Regions from separate parts of the Homo sapiens genome. Here all the other regions are linked to region 4. Evidence: promoter capture Hi-C in 16 types of primary human blood cells and fetal thymus (Javierre and others, 2016). All regions are on one chromosome and are shown on one strand. The core of a region is centred on a gene start or on the middle of the fragment in contact, and the rest is flanking DNA. Distances in the headings are between cores, read along the strand shown. Region 1 overlaps RNF139 (ring finger protein 139). Region 2 overlaps LINC02964 (long intergenic non-protein coding RNA 2964). Region 3 has its middle 4.7 kb from the start of TYW2. Region 4 holds the start of SQLE (squalene epoxidase). Region 5 overlaps RNF139-DT (RNF139 divergent transcript). Region 6 has its middle 170 kb from the start of LINC02964.

The links. The method cuts DNA at HindIII sites, captures the fragments that hold promoters and counts their contacts. A CHiCAGO score of 5 or more calls a contact.
Region 1: a fragment that was not itself captured here is called in contact with the fragment with the promoter of SQLE in region 4 in 1 of 17 cell types (erythroblasts); the score reaches 5.2 in erythroblasts.
Region 2: a fragment that was not itself captured here is called in contact with the fragment with the promoter of SQLE in region 4 in 1 of 17 cell types (neutrophils); the score reaches 5.0 in neutrophils.
Region 3: a contact is called between a fragment that was not itself captured here and the fragment with the promoter of SQLE in region 4, in 5 of 17 cell types (naive B cells, fetal thymus, total B cells and 2 more). The highest score is 6.8, in naive B cells.
Region 5: a contact is called between a fragment that was not itself captured here and the fragment with the promoter of SQLE in region 4, in 3 of 17 cell types (erythroblasts, megakaryocytes and total B cells). The highest score is 7.5, in erythroblasts.
Region 6: a contact is called between a fragment that was not itself captured here and the fragment with the promoter of SQLE in region 4, in 1 of 17 cell types (neutrophils). The highest score is 5.3, in neutrophils.

Annotation. Positions count from the first base shown.
Region 1 is chr8:124,483,053-124,486,570 of GRCh38, forward strand. RNF139 (ring finger protein 139) reads left to right here. Exons shown (of 2, transcript NM_007218.4): 2 at 2,779-3,518. Among named protein-coding and RNA genes, the nearest start is that of RNF139, 9.9 kb to the left of the region's middle. The HindIII fragment of the contact is 4,732 bases long and covers 1-3,518 here.
Region 2 is chr8:125,648,541-125,652,158 of GRCh38, forward strand. LINC02964 (long intergenic non-protein coding RNA 2964) reads left to right here. Exons shown (of 7, transcript XR_001746072.2): 6 at 1,693-1,733. Among named protein-coding and RNA genes, the nearest start is that of LINC02964, 130 kb to the left of the region's middle. The HindIII fragment of the contact is 1,737 bases long and covers 1,473-3,209 here.
Region 3 is chr8:124,444,332-124,447,881 of GRCh38, forward strand. No RefSeq gene overlaps it. Among named protein-coding and RNA genes, the nearest start is that of TYW2, 4.7 kb to the right of the region's middle. The HindIII fragment of the contact is 2,542 bases long and covers 1,015-3,550 here.
Region 4 is chr8:124,995,878-124,999,754 of GRCh38, forward strand. SQLE (squalene epoxidase) reads left to right here and starts at 2,628. Exons shown (of 11, transcript NM_003129.4): 1 at 2,628-3,817. The coding sequence starts at 3,527. It overlaps SQLE-DT (SQLE divergent transcript), which reads right to left and starts at 2,321. Exons shown (of 2, transcript NR_134457.1): 1 at 2,086-2,321; 2 at 1,111-1,283. RefSeq lists enhancers at 1,949-2,008, 2,939-2,988 and a silencer at 2,229-2,728. The HindIII fragment of the contact is 7,996 bases long and covers 1-3,877 here.
Region 5 is chr8:124,463,305-124,466,775 of GRCh38, forward strand. It overlaps RNF139-DT (RNF139 divergent transcript), which reads right to left. Exons shown (of 2, transcript NR_108047.1): 2 at 1-3,471. Among named protein-coding and RNA genes, the nearest start is that of RNF139-DT, 9.5 kb to the right of the region's middle. The HindIII fragment of the contact is 2,374 bases long and covers 999-3,372 here.
Region 6 is chr8:125,690,379-125,693,903 of GRCh38, forward strand. No RefSeq gene overlaps it. Among named protein-coding and RNA genes, the nearest start is that of LINC02964, 170 kb to the left of the region's middle. The HindIII fragment of the contact is 6,595 bases long and covers 1-3,525 here.

The DNA of each region.
Region 1 (3,518 bases), core at 348-2,847, 510 kb before region 4:
CTATTAAAAATATATATATATTATTTAAATATATATATATTTAAAAATATATATATTAAAAATATATATATTTAAAAGAGCCTGTTCTGAGCTCACAACTCTTTGGGGGATTATTAGTGGCCCATTTTCTTGGGGAATCAGGTGGTTTGTATTTAGAGGTTTATATGTCTTCTACTTTATTGTGTCCTTTTGTTTTCCTTTTCACAGATGACTTGACATTTTGGCACAGAATACATTTTAAATCCCTGGACAGAGTCATCACTTAAATGAACTAGCCCTTGCTTATATGTGCAGTGGATTGTGAAATGCGTCTACTGTAATAATATGCAATGTCTTGATTACCTGCTGAAATAAGGTGGATAGATGGATTTTTATTTTATTTAATATTTATTTATTTATGTATTTTGAGACAGGGTCTCACTGTCACCCAGGCTGGCATGCAGTGGTGCGATCTCAGCTAACTGCAATGCCTCCCGGGTTCAAGCGATTCTCCCACCTCAACCCCCTGAGTAGCTGGGAGTACAGGCACGTGCTACCACCCTGGCATATTTTTATATTTTTGGTAGAGACAGGGTTTCACCATGTTGACATGGTCTTGAACTCCTGGCCTCAAGTGATCCACCCGCCTCAGCCTCCCAAAGTGCTGGGATTACCATTGTGAGCCACCACACCCAGCCAAGATGGATTTTTAATTTGGAGTTTGTCACTTTTTCTGTACTCCAGGGTATGGTTTCTCATTGTCTGAAACATAGATTTTATTTTTCAAGCAGGCTATATTTTGTGGTTGCCTTTAAAAACATCCAGATGTGACAGACATTTCCTAATGAATACTAATTGTACTTATTTTGTACAAAATATTGTAGAATCCATAGATGGACAGGGTAGGATCTTTGCTTTCTGTTATAGATACATGTGTAATAGGGTAGATTATACTTAGATAACTGCAGACTACAATATCAGGTGATATATGAGTGTTAAATGTTTCACTAAGTTCTGCAGGTATGCTGAAAGAACAGTTTCTATCAAAGAAAGTAGGTTTCTAGGATAGGTAGGATTTGAATAGTCAGGGATTGGGAGGTTGGGGACATCATTCCAAGCAAAAAGAATGTAAACACTGCTGTAGCTATAGTGGAGAAAGGAATGTGTTTGGGGAATCCAAGTCTGGAGCACTGATGTGTGTGTGTTAGGAGGAATATTACTGTAAAGCAAATTGGGTTCTTGAATGCCAGGAGCAAGAATGTAGATTTTAGTTGATAGTAATTTCAGAGCCGCTGAAGTATTTTGAGCAGGGAATGAAGAAAGGCAATTTGGTGATGGCTTGTAAATGGATTTGGACAAGATGAGGGTTTTTTGAGACAGACTGATTGATTGGTGTCACAGAAAAGGGAGATAGAGGTGTTAGAAGAATTTGGCAACTAATTGGCAAAGTTTGAGCATGTGGGGCTGGGTTGGGAGTATCTCTAAAAGAACAATAATGGTACCTTCAACTGAAATAGCAAATCACAAGGAAAAGCTGATTCTAGTTTAAGGCAAGTCGAGTTTCAGAACTTTGGAGATTTGCAGTTGTAGGAGTGAAAGTAGGTGAGTATTCAGATGTCATTCCCATTGTTGAAACCTTGGATAATAATGTGTTTATTGTAATCCTACTTAAAATATGCATTTCTGTCAGAGTACAAAGAAAGATGGTGTCTATGGAGTGGGGGAAGGAGAATTACCATTTTCTAAAAACATGTCTTGGTTTTCTGAGTGTTACTTTTGTAATGTGAAGAACAATAAAAAGAGTTGACTATTTTAAGAAACAGATTCAGCATTATACAGGAAAAAGGGAACTTGGAAGATGTTTCTAAGTCCGAAGGAAACTAGGAGGAAAAAAAATGGAATTTTGGACCCTTTGGAGAATGCTCAGAGTTAAGGAGTAGGAAATAAGAGCTGGCATGAGTTCACAGTTTGAAGAAAAGGAGGAATTAAGTGGAAGTATAAAACTTGAACTTGATTTCCTAAAGAATCCTTTAAAAAAAAATCTAAAACTTGGCTGGGTGCGGTGGCTCACGCCTGTAATCCCAGCACTTTGGGAGGCAAGGCGGGCGGATCACTTGACGTCAGGAGTTAGAGACCAGTCTGGCCAACATGGTGAAACCCCGTCTCTACTAAAAATACAAAAATTAGCTGGGCATGGTGGCAGGTGCCTGTAATCCCAGTTACTTGGGAGGCTGGGGCAGGAGAATTGCTTGAGCCTGGGAGGCAGAATTTGCAGTGAGCTGAGATTGCACCAGTGCACTCCATCCTGGGCAACAGAGTGAGACTCTTGTCTCAGTCAGTCAATAATAAATGAATCTAAAACTTAATAGGAATAAATGTTTTCCATTTGGGTTATTTTTAACCCAATTTTTAAAATTAATTTTAATGATTATGAAATGATAAAAGACATATTCTTTTGAGTTTTAAAACTTGTTAAAATGTATGTACCACTACAAATTCATCTTGAAAATAATTTAGTAATTTGGTGCCTTGGACAGCTACAGTGTTACTTGAAATACTTTGGAAATTAGAAAGTAAGGAATGAAATTTTAAAGAATAATTTAGTATGTTTGGTCTGTTCTCCTGAACTCTGACTTTACAAAACCTTTATTACCCTTTAAGCCTTAGTTGTCTTGAGGCTTAATGTTCATAACTGAAAATATTCATATTTCCTAATTAAAGGAAGAATATCATAACTCTTAGTGGGGAAACATTCTTACAAATACTTCATTCAAATGACTTTTTCTTTCTTTCTTTTAGGTGTATTTGCATCCAGTATTGTTCTGATCTTGTCACAACGATCACTTTTCAAGTTTTACACGTACAGCTCAGCCTTTCTGTTAGCTGCAACTTCAGTGTTGGTGAATTATTATGCTTCTTTGCACATTGACTTCTATGGTGCCTACAACACGTCAGCTTTTGGAATTGAGCTGCTTCCTCGAAAAGGTCCCTCGCTGTGGATGGCACTTATCGTTCTACAGCTAACATTTGGAATTGGATACGTTACACTACTCCAGATTCATTCCATCTATTCACAATTAATTATTTTGGATCTCTTGGTTCCTGTAATAGGCTTAATCACAGAGCTACCATTACACATCAGAGAGACTTTACTGTTTACTTCTTCCTTGATTCTCACATTAAATACAGTGTTTGTCCTGGCAGTGAAACTGAAGTGGTTTTATTATTCCACACGATATGTTTATCTTTTGGTGAGGCACATGTATCGAATTTACGGATTACAGTTATTGATGGAGGACACATGGAAGAGGATTCGTTTCCCAGACATACTACGAGTCTTTTGGCTAACAAGAGTTACAGCTCAGGCTACAGTGTTAATGTACATCTTAAGGATGGCAAATGAAACTGATTCCTTCTTTATTTCTTGGGATGATTTTTGGGACCTCATTTGCAATCTTATAATTAGTGGGTGCGATTCTACACTAACTGTACTGGGCATGAGTGCTGTAATTTCCTCAGTAGCCCATTATTTGGGGCTT
Region 2 (3,618 bases), core at 1,091-3,590, 650 kb after region 4:
GACTTTGACTGGGGCATTTAAACTTTTATTGGTTTTACCTTGTAACAGCCGACAATAAAGATGATGATAATGTTGATGATTATAACTCCTCGCTTGGTGTACAACCTCACATATTACAGAGCTTTCACTCAGGTTCTGTAATTTGAGGCTGCTAATAACTGCATGATGTAAGAAGGGCATTTATCATTAATTCCTCTTTACAGAAGAGGAAATGATTTCACTCAGCTCACACAGCTGGTGGGTCTTGATAGACTTGGAACCAGAACCCAAGGCTTTTGATTCCTCATCTGTTTTTCTTCTCCAGGTTGTCCCTTTAATTTCCATCATTACCCCACCCTTCCCACTGGAATAGTGCCTTAATGTTGTTCCTTCAGGATGGTGTTTTCCACAGTGTGGCATAAACTGTAAGTCAAGGATGTATTAGTTATCTATTGCTGTGTAACAAATACCACAACACTGAGCTGTTTAAAGTAGCATCATTGCTATGTTGGAAACGTTCCACAATGCACTGGTGCTTTCTTCTGCCTCCTGTGCTCAGGGCTGATTGTGCACCCAGAAATTGAGGAGTGAGCTCAGCCTGAGAGGGCATTGAGGTTGCATTTCAGAGCAGTTTGGCTGTGGTGTGATGAGGAGGAGGTGGTTGGCTGGTGTTTGCACTGTGCAGCACTGAATAAGCAGGCTTCTGCCCCAGCAAACCCTGTTTAAAAAAAAAAAAAAGCAGCCTCCAGTTGTGGGGCCAGGCCAAGGGGGTAAACATAAGCTCATTTATATTATAGTCTTTAGATCGGAAAAACCACGGTATTTCTCTCTTTCCGCATTTCGCACTGAATGTCAGTGTGCAGCAATAGATAACTAATACATCCTTGACTTACGGTTTATGCCACACTGTGGAAAACACCATCCTGAAGGAACAGCATTAAGGCACTATTCCAGTGGGAAGGGTGGGGTAATGATGGAAATTAAAGGGACAACCTGGAGAAGAAAACTAGATGAGGAATCAAAAGCCTTGGGTTCTGGTTCCAAGTCTATCAAGACCCACCAGCTGTGTGAGCCGAGTGAAATCATTTCCTCTTCTGTAAAGAGGAATTAATGATAAATGCCCTTCTTACATCACACTCTGGAAGGCTAGGCGGAACCCTGTACTGTGGTCTTACAATATTGTTAGGAAGAGAATATTTCATATTCTTAAGTCCCTGGGGACCCTAGACTTTGAGGAGGATCAGGGTCACAATATCCATTACACCTTTTATTTTATTGATTGTCAATACATATTTGTATTTGCTTTATGTTTACCTTGTGTCAGTCTCTTGTCTTACTGTCTGGGATCCCCTGCCAAGGGTCTCATCTTAGTTATTTCTGGAAGTCCCAGGGAACAGCTCATGTGTCCATGTGAACTCCATCCCCCTGTCTCTCATGTAGTATTTACTCTTCTGTTTCCCAGCTCCAGCTTTCTGCTCTGATGTCTGCACTCAAGCTTTGGAGGCTCTTGCCAAGGTTGGTGTGGCTGGTGTCTGCACTGGGGATCCCACATTCATCCAGTGTCACCTTGTGATCCATCCTGACCCGATGCCTCTGTCTTTTTGCATCTTGTTTACTTACATTTGCCCCAAAGCAGGGCCACGCTGCCTCCCAGTAACTCAAGGAGATTTTAATAAAAAGTAATTCTTTTTTTTTTTTTTTTTTCTGTTTCAGCATTCACCCTCACAGGTTCTGGAACAAGCTCCAAGGCAGAGGTAAAGAAGCGTATCTGGACACGTCTGAGCCGTTGCACTCAACTTGTCCCTCTACTTTCCATGATTGCTCCACTTACTACACTGGAATAGTGTCCCACTGGAACATGGTCCCTTTAGGATGGTGTTCTCTAAAGTGTGGGGCACTGACCATTGGTCGAGGCTGTATTAGTTATCTATTGCCATGTAACAAATTACCCCAACACTTAGCAGCTTAAAACAGCATCATTTAGTGTCTCACAGTTTTTAAGGTCAGCAATCCAGGAGAGGCTTAACTGGGTCTCTGGGCTCTGGGTCTTTCCCAAAGCTGTGGTCATGGCAAGGCTGCATAGGGCAGGGGCTGCTTCCCAGCATCCTGGGGTTGGTGGGGGTAGGACTCAGTTTCTTGCCGGCTGTTGTGCCGAGGGTCTCTGTGCCTCAGGAGCTACTGGCTAGAAGATTTCCTCAGTTTCTTTCCACATGGATCTCTCCATAGAGTATCTCCCAATATGGCGCTGGCTTTGTTGTAATGAACAAGTGATAGGGCGAGGCAGAAGGCAAACAAGACACAAGTCACAGTCTTTTATAACCTATTCTTCAAGTGATGTATCATCCCTTGTGCCAAAATCTATTGATTAGAAACTAGTAACTAGGTCCAGCTCACACTCTGAAGCAGGTTACACAAGGCTGTGAATAACAAGGGGCCAGGAATCATTGGGGATCATCTTAGAGGCTGCTTACCACAGGTGGCTGGGGTGGGGGTGAAATGAATTTTGATGTTAAGCAAATTATGATTAAAACATTTAGTCAGGTTGGGCGTGGTGGCTCACACCTGTGATCCCAGCACTTTGGGAGGCTGAGGCAAGAGGGTCACTTGAGACCAGGAGTTCAAGATAAGCCTGGGCAACATGGTGAGACCCTGTCTCCACATAAAGTAAAAAAAAAAAAAAATTAGCCAGGCTTGGTGGCATGCACCAGTAGTCCCAGCCACTTGGGAGGCTGAGGCCGGAGGATTGTTTGAGCCTGAGAGATCAAGGCTGCAGTGAGCCATGATCGCACCACTGCACTCCAGCCTGAGCAGTAGAGCAAGACCCTATCTCAACAAACAAAAACAAAAACAAAAAAATAAAACATTTAGTCATTAGCCACTTTATTTTAAAGTGTACTAGGAAAAGTGTAGGTTATTGTTTTTGTTAAAGAAGAGGGTAAATTTTAAAAAAGGAGTTAATTAAAAGTATTAAGTACAGGTGGTTTTCAAATGCAGAACATATCATACATGTTGTAAAATGTGAAAAAATCAACAAAGTTTGGGTAACTTTTCCTTAGAATGCATTTCTTCCCAGGAGGCTTAATGACTTATGCAAATAGATTCTTATAGGTCCACCCTATAGGTCTTCCAGGCAAACTTTAAGGGATTTGAAAACTAGGATAAATACAGTTTAAACTGTCCTCCAACAGAAGTACACAGTTGCATATGAAAAAACATGGCACATCTTCCTAAGCTTTGTTTCCATTTGAAGACATGAAGAGTTAAACTATCTGACCAGTAAATATTAAATAAATTCTTATATAAAAACATGTTGGGATACATTATAGAATAAATGCAAATGCAAATGTCACAAGAATTTCTAAGGTAAAAATATGTGACTGCAAAGAAATTGTATAGTTGGTGGTGGTGAGCTGTATTTGTGCCTTCTAGTGGTGGAATGGGAGGGTATGAGATGAGGGTATTCTGGCAGAGAATGTGACAGTTGCTAAAGTTAAGGCAGAGACTCTTATTGTGGCACCTACTTCAAGGTGGCCTCTATGATCCTTACCTCCCGGTGTTCATGCTGTTGTATAATCTCCTTCTGTCGATTGCCTGAGGAACTGTGACTTGCTCCTAGCCCACAGAATATGGCAAGGGGGA
Region 3 (3,550 bases), core at 1,036-3,535, 550 kb before region 4:
GGAAAACGTGATGGATATTCACTCCAATCATAATGATGATCCCATAAACTCATATTGGCTGGCAGGATGTATCATGGCAGCACCACGGTGGAGGAGAGCTGTAGTTCTCCACACACCCGGCAATCCATTTTGTTGTGTAGGGAGGCTGAAGTTTGTGCCCAGCCAGCAAAGAGATTGCCTCTTAGCTAATACCAATATGTGTCCAGAATTGGGATATTAATCCAGATTTTTATGTTATTTATCTTTCTTGTTTCTTCTAAGCAGGAGCCAGATATCACTGGTTGGTTCACAGGAATAAGTGGAATCAGTCTCTTGTGTTCCAGCAGCCTGTGGGACTTCATAAGAAACAGACTTAATTCAAGATCAATGAGCCCAGCTGCTTCTTCCTTGAAGTGTAACTGCGGTTGAGGCACTAAGGAGTACTTACTTAGTAGGGTCCTTTCCACTGTGGGAAAGTTGATCTGCTAGGGACCATTTTTTCAAGTCATTAACAGGATCCCATTTCCTGGCTGGATTACAATAGGATTTTTTTCCTTAGTGAGGGAAGGAAGTCTCTCATTTCTGTATTCAAGAAGAGCTTTTTGCACCTGACCTAAGTTGGCAACATAATTCTGTAATTTGAAAGTATCTCCATCTACTAGGAAATCAGCAATTCTTTCAGAAAGGCTTTCCGTACATTATTTCAAAAGGGCTGAGCCTTCCACTGGGGCAGCCCAAACTTGCAGCGAGGCCACAGGCGATAGACGGAGCCAGGTTTCTGATGTTTCCTGTCAGAGCTTAGCAAGGGTCCTGTCTAAAATTTGATTGGTCCTTTCTACTTTTCCTGAAGACTGTGGCCTCCATGCGGAATGAAGACCATATTGAATTCCTAGAGCGGATGCTATGTCTTGGTTATTGTTGCTGTAAAGATGGGCCATTATCACTCTACAAGCTTTTAGGCAACCTGAATCTGGGAATCATATCCTTGAATGAAAATTTAGAAACCTTGATTGACTTTTCAGGCCAGATAGGAAAAGCTTCAATCCAACATGTAAAGAAAGGTATCAACCAACACTGATAAATATTGGAATCCTTTACATGGGGGCATTTGGGTATAGTGTGTTTGCCAATCTTCTTCTGGGTACGACCCCCTATGCTGAACAGGCTTTACTAATGGAGGAGGTAAAGTTTGGTTGTTTGAGGTTTTTTTGGGCACACAATTCACAGGCCCAAGTCACTTGTTTTACTGTTCTAAGAAAGTCTTTTCGGCCAGGCACGGTGGCTCACGCCTGTAATCCCAGCACTTTGGGAGGCTGAGGTGGGTGGATCACGAGGTCAGGAGTTCAAGACCAGCCTGGCCAACATGGTGAAACCCTGTCTTTACTAAAAATACAAAAATTAGCTGGGCATGGTGGCAGATGCCTGCAATCCCAGCTACTCGGGAGGCTGAGGCAGAGAATTGCTTGAACCCAGGAGGCAGAGGTTGCAGTGAGCTGAGATCACACCACTGCACTCCAGCCTGGGTGACAGAGCGAGACTCCGTCTCAAAAAAAAAAAGAAAGTCTTTCCCTATAAACAGATGAGCCATATTAATTGAAATGAGAAATCTCTTCCCAAATGAGTAGAGCCATGCCAATACTTAACTATTTTCCATTGATCAGCTCTTGGTACATATCATCTGTCATTTTCATCAATTAGCCATCTGGAAGTGCTTATAGTTAACCCATGGGTCTTAGCCCATTTTTGTTCTTTTCTAGTATTAACCATGCTCTAGTTTTATCGTCACCAAGGCAGTGGGCACCAACATGCCTACCAGATTAACTGGTTCCCTCAAATGAAGCTGCCTCAGCTGTAGCATCTGCAAAAGAATGCCCTTTTATTATTTTGGAGTTTTCTTTCTTTCTTTTCTTTTCTTTTTTTTCTTTTTTTTTTTTTTTTTGAGTCAGAGCCTTGCTCAAGTTGCCCAGGCTGGAGTGCAATGGCACGATCTCAGGCTCACTGCAACCTCTGCTGCCCAGGTTCAAGCAATTCTCCTGCCTTAGCCTCCCAGGTAGCTGGGATTACAGGCACGAGCCACCACGCCCAACTAATTTTTGTATTTTTAGTAGAGATGGGGTTTCACCCTGTTGGCAAGCCTGGTCTCGAACTCCTGACCTCATGATCCGCCCGCCTTAGCCCCTCAAAGTGCTGGGATTACAGGTGTGAGCCACAGTGCCTGGCATATTTTGGAGTTTTCTTTTTGATGTCCCTTGCAGTGAATCACAGCAACTTCCTTAGGCAGCAAGGAAGCATCTAGTAGATTTAAAATTCCCAAATAATGTTCTATAGGGGAGCCCTTAGAAGTTAAAGAGTCCCCATTATTTCCAAATAGCAGCATGAGCATGAAGCACCAGAAAGCCATACTTGGAGTTTGTGTACATGTTAATTCTTTTTTAAAATTATTATCCTTTTTTGAGACAGAGTCTCGCTCTGTCTCTAGCCTGGAGTGCAGTGGCATGACCTTGGCTTACTGCAAGCTCTGCCTCCTGGGTTCAAGTGATTCTCCTCCCTCAGCCTCCTGAGTAATTGGGACTACAGGTGTGCACCACCACGCCCAGGTAATTTTTGTATTTTTAGTACAAATGGGGTTTCACCATGTTGGCCAGGCTGTTCTGGAACTCCTGACCTCAAGTAATCCGCCTGCCTCAGCCTCCCAAAGTACTGGGATTACAGGTGTGAGCCACCACACCCAGCCCTAGTGGCCCGTCTTTTAAATCCTGCCAGCTGGAATAAATTTGTTCCATAGCTTGTGTACATGAATGATCTAGGGTGCCTTTGGATCCAAGTAGATACGTAGCTAGGATTAAGGTCTTCTGTTATACTTTAAGAGTTATATCAAGAGTATCTAGCAATAAAGCCTGATAATTTAATAACTATCCCCTACTCATCTATTGGTGCCCTTTAGCTTCTAGGGCCTCTGTTATTTGGTGTGGGGTCAAAACCTCCAGATGTTGTCCCAAAGTTAATTTATTGTCTTCATCTATGAGAAGAGCAGTTGTTGCAACTGCCCTGAAACATCTGAGTCATCCTGAAGCCACATGGTCAATTGGTTAGAAAAATATGCCATGGGTCAAGGGATGTATCCCTGTTTCTAGACAAGAACATTTAGGGCTGTCCCTTGTTTCTCAGCCACATAAAGGAAGAAAGTAAAGCCTGTCCCTAAACCCACGGGGAAGAATTGTCCAAGTTAACACAGAAACCAAAAGATTATTAGGTAATCAAAAGTAAAGACCACAATAGGGGACTCAGCAAAAGAAATGTTTCACTAGAGAAGGGAAATGACAAAGTTCTAGAAAGGAATGTCCAAGTTCAGGCCAGTAGCGGCAAGCAGGACAAGATTTACATGGCCTTGCCATTTGTAACCAAAAAGTAAAAGTCATTCCATTAGCAAGGAGATGAAAAAGAACTGCTGAAAAGCAATCTCCAGTTTTCCATCCTGGAGCAGTTCACCTAGGGGGGACTGGTATAATTGCTGCCAGGCTTAATCTTTCACATTGGACCTTTTCATTTAAAACTTGTAAATGCGAAATTC
Region 4 (3,877 bases), core at 1,378-3,877:
TGATTTTGTCTCACATTTCATTGCTTTCCCTTCAGGTCTCAATGACAGATTTGTTTTTGAATAAATGAACCATGGCAAGATTCAAAAATACTTAAGCAATGCTTATATAACATTTAATTCAGTTCAGAAGATATAGGCATTCAGAGTGTGCTCTGCGGTAGGTATTACAAGTGCTCTTTTTGCCCCAAATTCAGAAGTGGATCTTGAACTGCCTAAAGGATTCAGACCTGACATTGTAAGAATGACTTTGTGAAGATAAAAACATATGAAGAAAGTCGCTTTCCAGAGATTAAAAAATTATCTACTTAATAAGAAAAATTCCTTTTATGATAATCTTGAGTACAGAGTTAGCAGGTAACAGCCATCCTGGTGATAACTGTATTCCCATCTGTAAGAGTCAGTTGGCCGGGCTTGGTGGTTCATGCCTGTAATCCTAGCACTTTGGAAGGCTCAGGCGGGAGGATCACTTGAGGTCAGGAGTTTGAGACCAGCCTCGCCAACATGGTGAAACACTGTCTCTACTAAAAATACAAAAATTAGCCGGCATGGTGGCACGTGCCTCTAGTCCCAGCTACCCGGGAGGCTGAGGCTTGAGAATCGCTTGAAGCTAGGAGGCAGAGGTTGCAGTGAGCTGAGATTGCGCCACTGCACTCCAGCCTGGGCCACAGAGCGAGACTCTGTCACAAAAATTTAAAAATAATAAAAGAGTCAGCTGCTCCTCTATTATTTTAACAAAACAGAACTCACAGATACCAATAAGCAGTTTATTGAAGAATTCTCTTCAGGAAATGATTTCCCATACATTGAACTGATTCTCTTTTCTGCAGTCCTTTTAAATTTGATGTCAGTTCAGACAGCCAAACTTACTGGTAACAGTGAGGAATATTGTAGAAGAAAGAATAAAAGTATTGGAAAGCAAGGCAGTTATTGATAATTATGCATACTGGGGAACCACAAGATTTGGAGACCAGGACTTTGACTTTTGGTTTCATCATTACGATTTAATCACAGCTGTGATTTAGTCAAGCCATTTAACCTCTTTAATTTTCATTTTCCTCATTTTAAAAATCAAAGTTGTTTTGAGGGTCAAGTGAACGCCTGTGCGGGTGTTTTACCAAATAATTATTTTATTAGCAGATAAAACATAATATTGGGGGTGAAAAGTTATAAGAGGTGCCATGTTTTTTTAAACCCTGCCAAGTATCTGATACAGAATTGCAAAGGATGTTCGAGTTCATGAAGAAGTTGCCTTCTCCCCACAGAGGCAGAGTGACTTGTAACATCTGTAAAAGGTCACAGTCTGGTTAGCGGTAGCCAGAATCTGGGTCTCCTAACTCTAGTTGCCTAGTCTTGCTTTTATGCGCCAGTGTCGTTCATCATTCATTAAATACATGTTATGGAGGATAAATTAAGGGCAGAGCATTGTGCTAGGTGCTGTGGGTGATCTTATCAGACACAGATCTTTAGGGAATCTAGAGATTAAAAAGTATGAATAAAGTTATGTGACTTGGTGAAGGTCAATGGCGATTTGGTGGAAGAGGTGACAATGCAGCCACGCTCCAAAAGGCAGAAGGGATTTGCACCTATTATCATAGGGGTTAAAGAAGGAAGTCCAGAGTTAAGAAACAGGATGAGCAAAGACACTGAGGTCTTAAGCCTCAATAAATTTTAGGTAAGTTTCATCGTAGTAGAATAAGGGCTGTCTCACTCCGAGACTTTTGCACACTTTTGCTCCCTCGGACTGCTTGTCCTGGACACCGTGTAACCTCCCCCTGGGCGCCTCACCAGACTTCTCCAGGCCAAGGGAAGGACCACCTCTTGGGTTTCCATGGCTCCCTCTCTAACCACCCCCTTCTCAGGACACCTATGACACGACTATTTGACTTCTTTGCCTCCGAGCCCCCACCCCCAACGTTTCTGGTCTTGAGAGAACGGGCTGGGCGCATCCGTGTATCTCTAGCCTGAGCACCTGGAGCGTCCTCTCCTTTTCTTCTTAAGGCAAAAGCCTACTCATTCTTCCAGCTTCAGCTGGAATGTCAGGCTCTCCACGCACTCATGGCCCTCCCTTCCGCCCTCTCCACATACACAGGGCAGGGAAGCTGTGTCTGATTCCTCTTTCGGACTCCGGGGACTGACATATCATAAGCGCTCAATAAATGCTAGCGGAATGAATGGAAACGTTCCGACCCGAGGCAGCGGATCACTCCAGGCTTCTCCTCAAAGCGAGCACACCTCAGTCCAGGGAGGGCGCAGGAGCTGGGGCTGCTGCGGTGAACCAACCCCAACCCCGACCCCGACGCCGATCCCGGCCCCAGAGCGCCTCCTAGGCGACCCCTGGCCCCACCCACGCCGGAGCCGGCCCGCGCCCATCCCCACGCCCCAACCCGCACCACGCAACATCGCCCTAGCGCCTTTCGGGGCGTCGCCGCGCAGGTTGCGCCGCCTCCGATTGGCCAAACGCGGCATAGCGCCATCTCGGCCTACCGCGCGGTGCGCGCCCTCATTGGCCGGCGGCGGCAGGAGCAGGGGTAGGGGGCGGGGCAGCACGCGGGGCGCGCGGTATGGGCGGACTCGCGCCTGAGCCCCGCCCCCGGTCCCTCGTCTGGGCCGAGCCCGCCCAGCTGGCTGAGACGCGTGGAGCCTGGCGGCGAGTGGGGGCGTGCGACGGTTACTCTGGTTACTGGGGCCGCGCCGCGCTGGCGAGAGCCGCCGCCCGCGAGGGATGCTGGTGAGGAAGCCGTCGGGAGCCGCCGCCGCCATCTGAGGGAGGTACCCTGGAAACCACCTTTTATCGGTGGGGAAGTGCAGTCGCGGTGGGCGGCTCTGGGGGCCAGCGAAACGGGAGGCCTCTAAATCTTTAGGTTGGGGCTGCATTGCCCTGGAGCCGCACTCTTGAGTCCGAGGCCATCTTTTGTTGGAGAAGGCGTCGGCGTTGGCGTTTTCCCGAGGTTGGGCTGTACAGTGTCTCCGTCCGCGGAAAAAGAAGCCTCTGAACCCGCGCCGGCCCGCAGCCCCCGTGCCTTCCGGCCGCTGCTCGCCGTCGCCAGAGGCTAGGCCACGTTTCCCCCAGTGCCGAGGTGTTTCTGTGACCCTCCCTCCACTCCCATTCCCTTCTGAAAGGGCACCTGCTCTTGGTGAGAAAAGAAATTATAGCACGAAGAGCCAGTATCAGAAGAGTATCCATCACCCGCAGCAACCGCTCAGGGAACACCATCAAAAAAGAAAAAAAGGGAATATCTGGATTTCCTGGGCGAGGAGGAGCGAGTCTGCTCGGGAGCTGTTCCAGCAGGCGATTTTTAAATACTGCTTTCTACGCCCTATACAACTTGGCTTCACATACTTTTACACTAACTTTATATGATTTTTAAAAACTGGTCTGATCGGACTTCTCGTCCTGGGACACTGTTTACTGGAGTCTGGCCGGCTCTCCGTGCTCCTCTTGGTACCTCATTTTGGGGAGAACCTTAAACCCACTCGAGCAGATAATCTCCGCCTTGACCGGTGCCACCAAAGAAGCCTTGGAACCATGTGGACTTTTCTGGGCATTGCCACTTTCACCTATTTTTATAAGAAGTTCGGGGACTTCATCACTTTGGCCAACAGGGAGGTCCTGTTGTGCGTGCTGGTGTTCCTCTCGCTGGGCCTGGTGCTCTCCTACCGCTGTCGCCACCGAAACGGGGGTCTCCTCGGGCGCCAGCAGAGCGGCTCCCAGTTCGCCCTCTTCTCGGATATTCTCTCAGGCCTGCCTTTCATTGGCTTCTTCTGGGCCAAATCCCCCCCTGAATCAGAAAATAAGGAGCAGCTCGAGGCCAGGAGGGTAGGTTGATTTCAAAGCGGGCAGATGAATGTCTTATTTAGGAGTAGGATTGGGTTCACT
Region 5 (3,471 bases), core at 936-3,435, 530 kb before region 4:
TCGAGGGTTAATTTTTCCCGCTATTGAAGCAAGACCTTTCTTAGTACTCTAACTGGTGCCTTGTGAATTAGGATCTTTTCCACTCTTGCTGACGGGATCAGGAATCATTCACCATCCTGTGTGAGCTTTGAGTATTGTTTTCTTTAATCCTTTCTGATGGTTCTTTGCCAAGCCTTTGGTTATTTCCTCTCATGCATGTACTAATCATTATTTAGCTTAATACTTCAGGAGAATGGTCAGCAGATCTCTGGAGTTCTCTCTGTGTCACTCTGTCCTCTCTAGTATTCTACCCTGTGAACTCTAGTTGCCTTGGGCTCTCAGGACTCCCACTTATATCTCCTCACCTCACAGAGTCTTCTGGGTTCCCTCTCCCCATGCCAAAGCCTTTCTTCAGGCAGCAAGTTGGAGCAATTGTATTGCTCACCTTGTTTGCATTCCATCTCTCATGGATTACTATCCTTCACTGCCTATGTCCAATGCCTTCAGGGCCATTGTTTCATATATTTTGCCCATTTAAAAAAAGTATTTGGAAGTTTATAATTACTTTCTACTTAAATTTACTAGCTGTCACAATCATTACTGAAGAAATTCACTCTTGCAATAATATACATATGTACTTCATTTGACACAGAATTTCAACATGTAAAGCATATAAGAATTTCTTGCCACAATCATGTTTAGAATGCTTACCTATAAGGTGAATATTAAAATATTAGTAAATACAATGACTTTTTTCAGATTAGACATGATAAATAACCTGCAAGGTTACTTGACCATTGGTCACACAGAATTTCAGAGAGATCAGAACCAGTGTCAAAATAGGTATTTGTCTTTTTGGCTTTTTAAAGGTCAAGGTTGAATCAAGGGTAAACGAAAATATTGCATGAACATGAAGCTAAAATTGAATTTTATGTAACACAACAACAGCACTGGGTAAATAGAGATAGGTGGATAGACTGTCTCAGTTTCTTTTTAATAATTTTTATTTTTTTAATCGAAGCTTTACACATAATTTAAAAACTCAAAGGTAACAAAACCTAATATGAAAAAAGCCCACCATGATGAAGCAGCTGTTCTGCAGGTGTTTTGCCCTCATTCTGTGTGTCTACTTTCAATTCCAAATGGGCTTATATGACCAAAGAGATGCAGGATCTAACCAACATGTACCAACAGGAACCATGAGCATGTGTATGGAACTGGGTCCTGAGAGTGCTGGACAAGAATTAAGTTTGTGTTTATATAGGACAGCAGTACCCATTTATAGTATTGGCTTAGGGTTATGTTAACTCTTCCACACTGCGTCATAATCCGAAGAGATCTAGACCATCTAAACATCCCACATAATGTCACAATGACCTACCACATTGATGACATCATGCTAGCTGGATAAGGTGAATAATAAGCAGCTAGCATACTGTACACTGGAGGATGGGAAATAATCCTTAAGACCCAGCAAGCTGTTACCTCAGTGAAACTTTTAGGGCCCAGTAGGCTGCTTGAATGCCAAGATATCCCCTTCACAGTAAAGGACAAATTATTGCATCTCACCCACTCATTTCACCAAAATTATTCTGCCACCAGGGAAGCACACCAAGCTGTGTAGGCTTCTGTGGGAATTCAGAAGTTGGCAGTACTGTTCTGACTCGTAAACTGGGTGAGATAGAAATCTGCCAGTTTTCAGTGGGATCCATAGCATGTAAAAGTTCTCTAGCAGGTATGGTGTATTTAGCCCTGTTGCATGGACCAATTCAGGATATTCTATGGGACAAGAGTAAATGTGATAAGAAGCCATGAAAGTTGAAGGCAAGCTCCAATGGGAGAATCACAAGGTCGACTCCTGGCATTCTGTGGCAAGGCTGGGCCATCTGCAGTGCAAAATCCCAAAAACAACTCTATCCATGCTAATGTGCCTTGGTAAGAACTGATTATGGACATCAAGTGACCATGTAGCCAGAGAGGCCCATCATGAGCTGGGCAAAGGCAGGTGGTCAGGCTCCCATGTCATATCTGATTCTTTACCAATGTCCCTTCCTCAGCTCACAATTATGGCCACTTGGGAGGCTCTCATGTCTAGCTTATGGAGGACAAAAAAGCCTGAGCTGAATTCACTGAGGTTTCTTGGAATATAGGTTCAAAACAAAAATGGACTGCTACTGCCCTACAGCCCCACACAGGACTGGCCTTAAAAGACAGCAGTAAGGAGAACCCTCCCAAAAGGCATAATGTGGGGCAGTATTCCTGGTCATCAACTGTGTGTGGAAAGAAAGTGTCTTGAACTAAGAACATATTTTCATGGCAAATAAGTTGGCTAGTTGATCAGGGGTCTGGAATAAGACTGGTATATCAGGGACAAGAAGTCTGGAGAAGCAGAGGAGAAATATATCAGATATGGCACATAAGGAGGGCTTTTTGTATTGTATAACACAATCTTTATCTGCCAGAGACAATCCAACATGTAAGCAGCATTAAATAACCAAGTAGACAGATTTAGCCAGTAAACTTCAGCAGCTACAACCATCGGCTCCACCGCCCCCTCCCTCCGCCCCCAGGAATGGCACAGGGGGCTTATGACAAAGTAGTCATCTTGCAGGAATGCAAGTGAGCAAGAAGCCAATAGATAGCCTCCACTTATCCAATAGCCACTCCCCAGGCTGGGCGCGGTGGCTCCTGTCTGTAATCCCAGCACTTTGGGAGGCTGAGGTGGGCGGATCACCTGAGGTCTGGAGTTTGAGACCAGCCTGACCAACATGGAGAAACCCCGTCTCTACTAAAAATACAAAATTAGCTGGCCGTGGTGGCGCATGCCTGTAATCCCAGCTACTCACGAGGCTGAGGCAGGAGAATCCCTTGAACCCAGGAGGCAGAGGTTGCAGTGAGCCGAGATGGCGCCACGGCACTCCAGCCTGGGCAACCAGTGAAACTCCGTCTCAAACAAAACAAAACAACAACAACAACAACAACAAAATAGCCACTCCCCAGTGTTAAACACCAAGTTCCTGATACAGCACCAACCCTCAAGGATACCAAACAGCTACTTGGGCAGCAAATTGATTTATGTTGGATTCCTTCCATCCTAGAATGGGCAGTGATTCTCCTTGACTAGAAACTGCCCATCTGCATGTATGAGTTTGACTTCCTTGCCTATAAGTTGTTGGCCAGCTCTACTACTCACAGGTTTACAGGTATTTGATCCATCAACATGTATCCTGTGTAATATTGCCTTTGATTTAGGGATGCACTTTACAGCAAAGGAGGTGTATCAGCAGGTACATAACCATGAGATCCACTAGTCCTATCACATACTATATAACCGAGAAAATGCGGGTCTGATGGAATGATGAAAAACCCTTTTGAAGGTGAAACTGAAGCAAAAGCTTGAAGATAATAGCCTGTGAAAATGGAATGACCTTGTCCACCAGGGTACAGTATATACTCTAAATCAACACTCATTTTATGGTGCTGTGTCTCATA
Region 6 (3,525 bases), core at 45-2,544, 690 kb after region 4:
TCTTTAAATCGATCCCTAATTCTGAATATTTAGATTTTATATATATATATATATATATATATATATATATATATATATTTTTTTTTTTTTTTTTTTTTTTTTTTTTTGCATTTTTCGGTAGAGACAAATTCTTACTTTATTGTCCAGGCTGGTCTCAAACTCCTGGGCTCAAGTGATCCTTCTGCCTTTGCCTCCCAAAATCCTCAATTATAGGCATGAGTCACTGTAGCCGGCCTATTTCTAATTTTTGTTAGTATAGATTACACTTTTTTTGTTGTTGTTGTTGAGATGGAGTCTTGCTCTGTTGCCCAGGCTGGAGTGCAGTGGCACCATTTCGGCTCACCACAACCTCCGCCTCCTGGGTTCAAGCGAGTCTCCTGCCTCAGTCTCCTGAGTAGCTGGGATTACAGGTGTGTGCCACCATGCCTAGCTAATTTTTGTATTTTTAGTAGAGACAGGGTTTCACTATGTTGGCCAGGCTGGTCTCAAACTCCTGACCTTGTGATCTGTCCACCTCAGCCTCCCAAAGTGCTGGGATTACAGGCGTGAGCCACTGCGCCTGGCCCTGGATTACACTTTTAAAACAATATATTTACAGATATTTTTATACAACTGTATAGGAACCTTTATATAATTTTCCTAATATTTGCTTTGAAGAGATTCCTTAACTTTTTTTTTTTTGAGTTAAAAGAAATGAACATTTCGAAGATTCTTTATACATCTCATCTTCACAACTTGTTTTAAACCTCTTCCATAGCTTCAAGCTATGGTCCTGCTTTCTGGTTCTATTCTTCATCTTACTCCCTGGATGCGATGCCTTCATGTTCTTGGCCTCCTTTCCTGACACTATCTACGCACCTGTTTGTTATTCTGGGCTATAAATTTCCCAACCAAATCTGGCTTAGCTCTAGGTCCTGCTGGAATTATCTTCACTCCTCTTGTGGGAAATTGGATGGGAAGGAGAAATTGGACTCCTTCGTGAAAATTCCCTCCACATATTCATCCAGTAAAAATGTATGAAATGCCCAGTGCCTGGCACTTCTGGAATTCTCTCCAAAGATGCCATCCTGTTCCCACACTGTCATGGGAACAATAAAGGGAACCGTGTGGCCTCCTGCCATCTGCGTGTCTCCATCCCAGGGCGAATGCTTGATTAGTGGGGTGGTACTGCAGGCCCGGATCCTCAGGAGTCATCACTTTTCTTCTTGCCACAACTCTTCTTTTGCTCAACAGTGCCTTAATGGCTCAGTCACTTAAGAGTGCAGTCACTTAATAGCCCTTTCTATCAATTTTCCCATCTGCAGAATGGGGACTGTGATTCTGGGCTGACCGGGTGTTGTGAGCATTAATGAATGTTTTGAGGCATGTTGAGATCTGTAGATAAACAAACCTCAAGAAGTACAAAGTGCTAATGAGCCTGTTGCTGAGCAGCTCGCTTTGAGAGACTGCTTTCTTTCCCACAGAGGAGGAATCAGTTCCTAATCCCTGGGCACAGATGTTTTCCAGCTGCTTTTGGATGAACCAAAACAGTGGATTCCAAAGGGAATTTTCCCTGGACACATGCAGCTCTCAGGTTAATGGAAACCTCAGAATTAAGTCTAAAGCAACACCAGAGTAACTCCCAAGTTAGTTTGCCCGGTGACAGCACCACTTGGTAGAGTTTCTTGGCACTTTCTGCAACAGTGTTTGCCTGAGTGTGGAATGTATACTACTGATGACACACAGATGCCTTTGATGGTGCGTGGATGAACTTTTAATAACTTTTCACAGTTATGCATTTTTTGGTGGTTATTTTCTATCTGTAGCAAGTGATACTATTTATTTATTTATTTATTTAATTATTTGTCACAACAAGAATAACTGACATTTGGGCTGGGTGTGGTGGCTCACGCCTGTAATCCCAGCACTTTGGGAGGCCGAGGCAGATGGATCATGAGGTCAAGAGATCGAGACCATCCTGGCCAACACGGTGAAACACTATCTCTACTAAAAATACAACAATTAGCTGGGCATGGTGGTGCACACCTGCAGTCCCAGCTATTTGGGAGGCTGAGGCAGGAGAATTGCTTGAACTCAGTAGGTGGAGGTTGCAGTGAGCCGAGATCGCGCCACTGCTCTCCAGCGTGGGTGACAGAATGAGACTCCATCTCAAAAAAAAAAAAAAAGAATATCTCACATTTACTGAGGGCTTACTTTGTCCTGGGTACTGTTGTAAGTGCTTTACAGCAAAGCATTTAATCATCACAACAGCCTTATCTTTAGATATTCTTATTATCCCCTTTGTACACATGGGGATGTTGACACACAGAAACTTTAAGGAGTCTTACAAACTGTCTAAATTTACATAGCTGGCAAACAGTGGAGATGGGGTTTCTATCAGACAATTTTGGCTCCAGGGCCCATGTTCCTGTTAAACAGCCTGTCATATTTCCTTTCAATATATTTGCATTTGTGGTACTGGTATAAAGGATATTTAAAAACAGATTATTTAAAGTTACAAAAGCATGTTGATTGGAATAAAAATGATGTATAAAATCTGAGTTAAAAATAATGAGATGGTTTGAAGATATGGTGGATATTGTGATGTTGGAATCAATGACTGAAGGGCAGTGCGCCCTAGCGGGTGGCCTGGTGACCACCGGGGCCACTATTCTCTAGAAGCTGGTTAAAAATCCAGATCTATGGGCTCTCTGTGGGTGCAGTCCAAGGATCTGTATTTATAAACAAAGGCCTCAGGGCATTTCCATATCATGAAGCTGTGACACACCTGTTTCCCAACCCCCAATCCCTATCTGGGCATAAGACAAACAACAACAACGACAACTGCTGATTGGTTGGGTGTTCCACTGGGTTATCACTCTTTTGGCCTCATGTCAGGGAAAGGCAGAAGAGAAGGGACAGAGAGCTACTCTTTAGATTGCTAGACACAGGCCTTATCCTAATCCTCACATTGAGGAAGGTGTGCTTAGGCCCATTTTACAGACAAGGAAACTGAAGGTGAAAGAGGGTAAGTGACTTGGCAAGTGGTGGGGCCAAGAGTCAGACCTGGGCATGTAGCGTTCATCAGCCGAGCACTTTCCATTGTACCAGCCCTCTGAGGCCAGGCATTCAGAGTTAGCGCATCCCCAGACAAGCTGAAAGGGGGCCCAAGTCAGGGCAGTGAGCTTGCATTTGGAGAACTGCGCTAACTCTTAGTGCTGGAATTTAAAGCATGGTGTGATCTCGGCTCACTGTAACCTCCCAGGTTCAAGTGATTCTCCTGCCTCAGCCTCTGGAGTAGTTGGGATTACAGGTACCCGCTACCATGCCCGGCTAATTTTTGTATTTTTAGTAGAGACAGAGTTTCACTATGTTGGCCAGGCTGGTCTCGAACTCCTGACCTCGGATCATCTGCCCACCTTGTCCTCCCAAAGTGCTGGGATTACAGGCGTGAGCCACCGTGCCTGGCCCATATTCTTTACCACTGTGTTCTACTGCATCCTAATAATAAAAATATTCTCACTTACTATGTGCTGGGTGTTACAC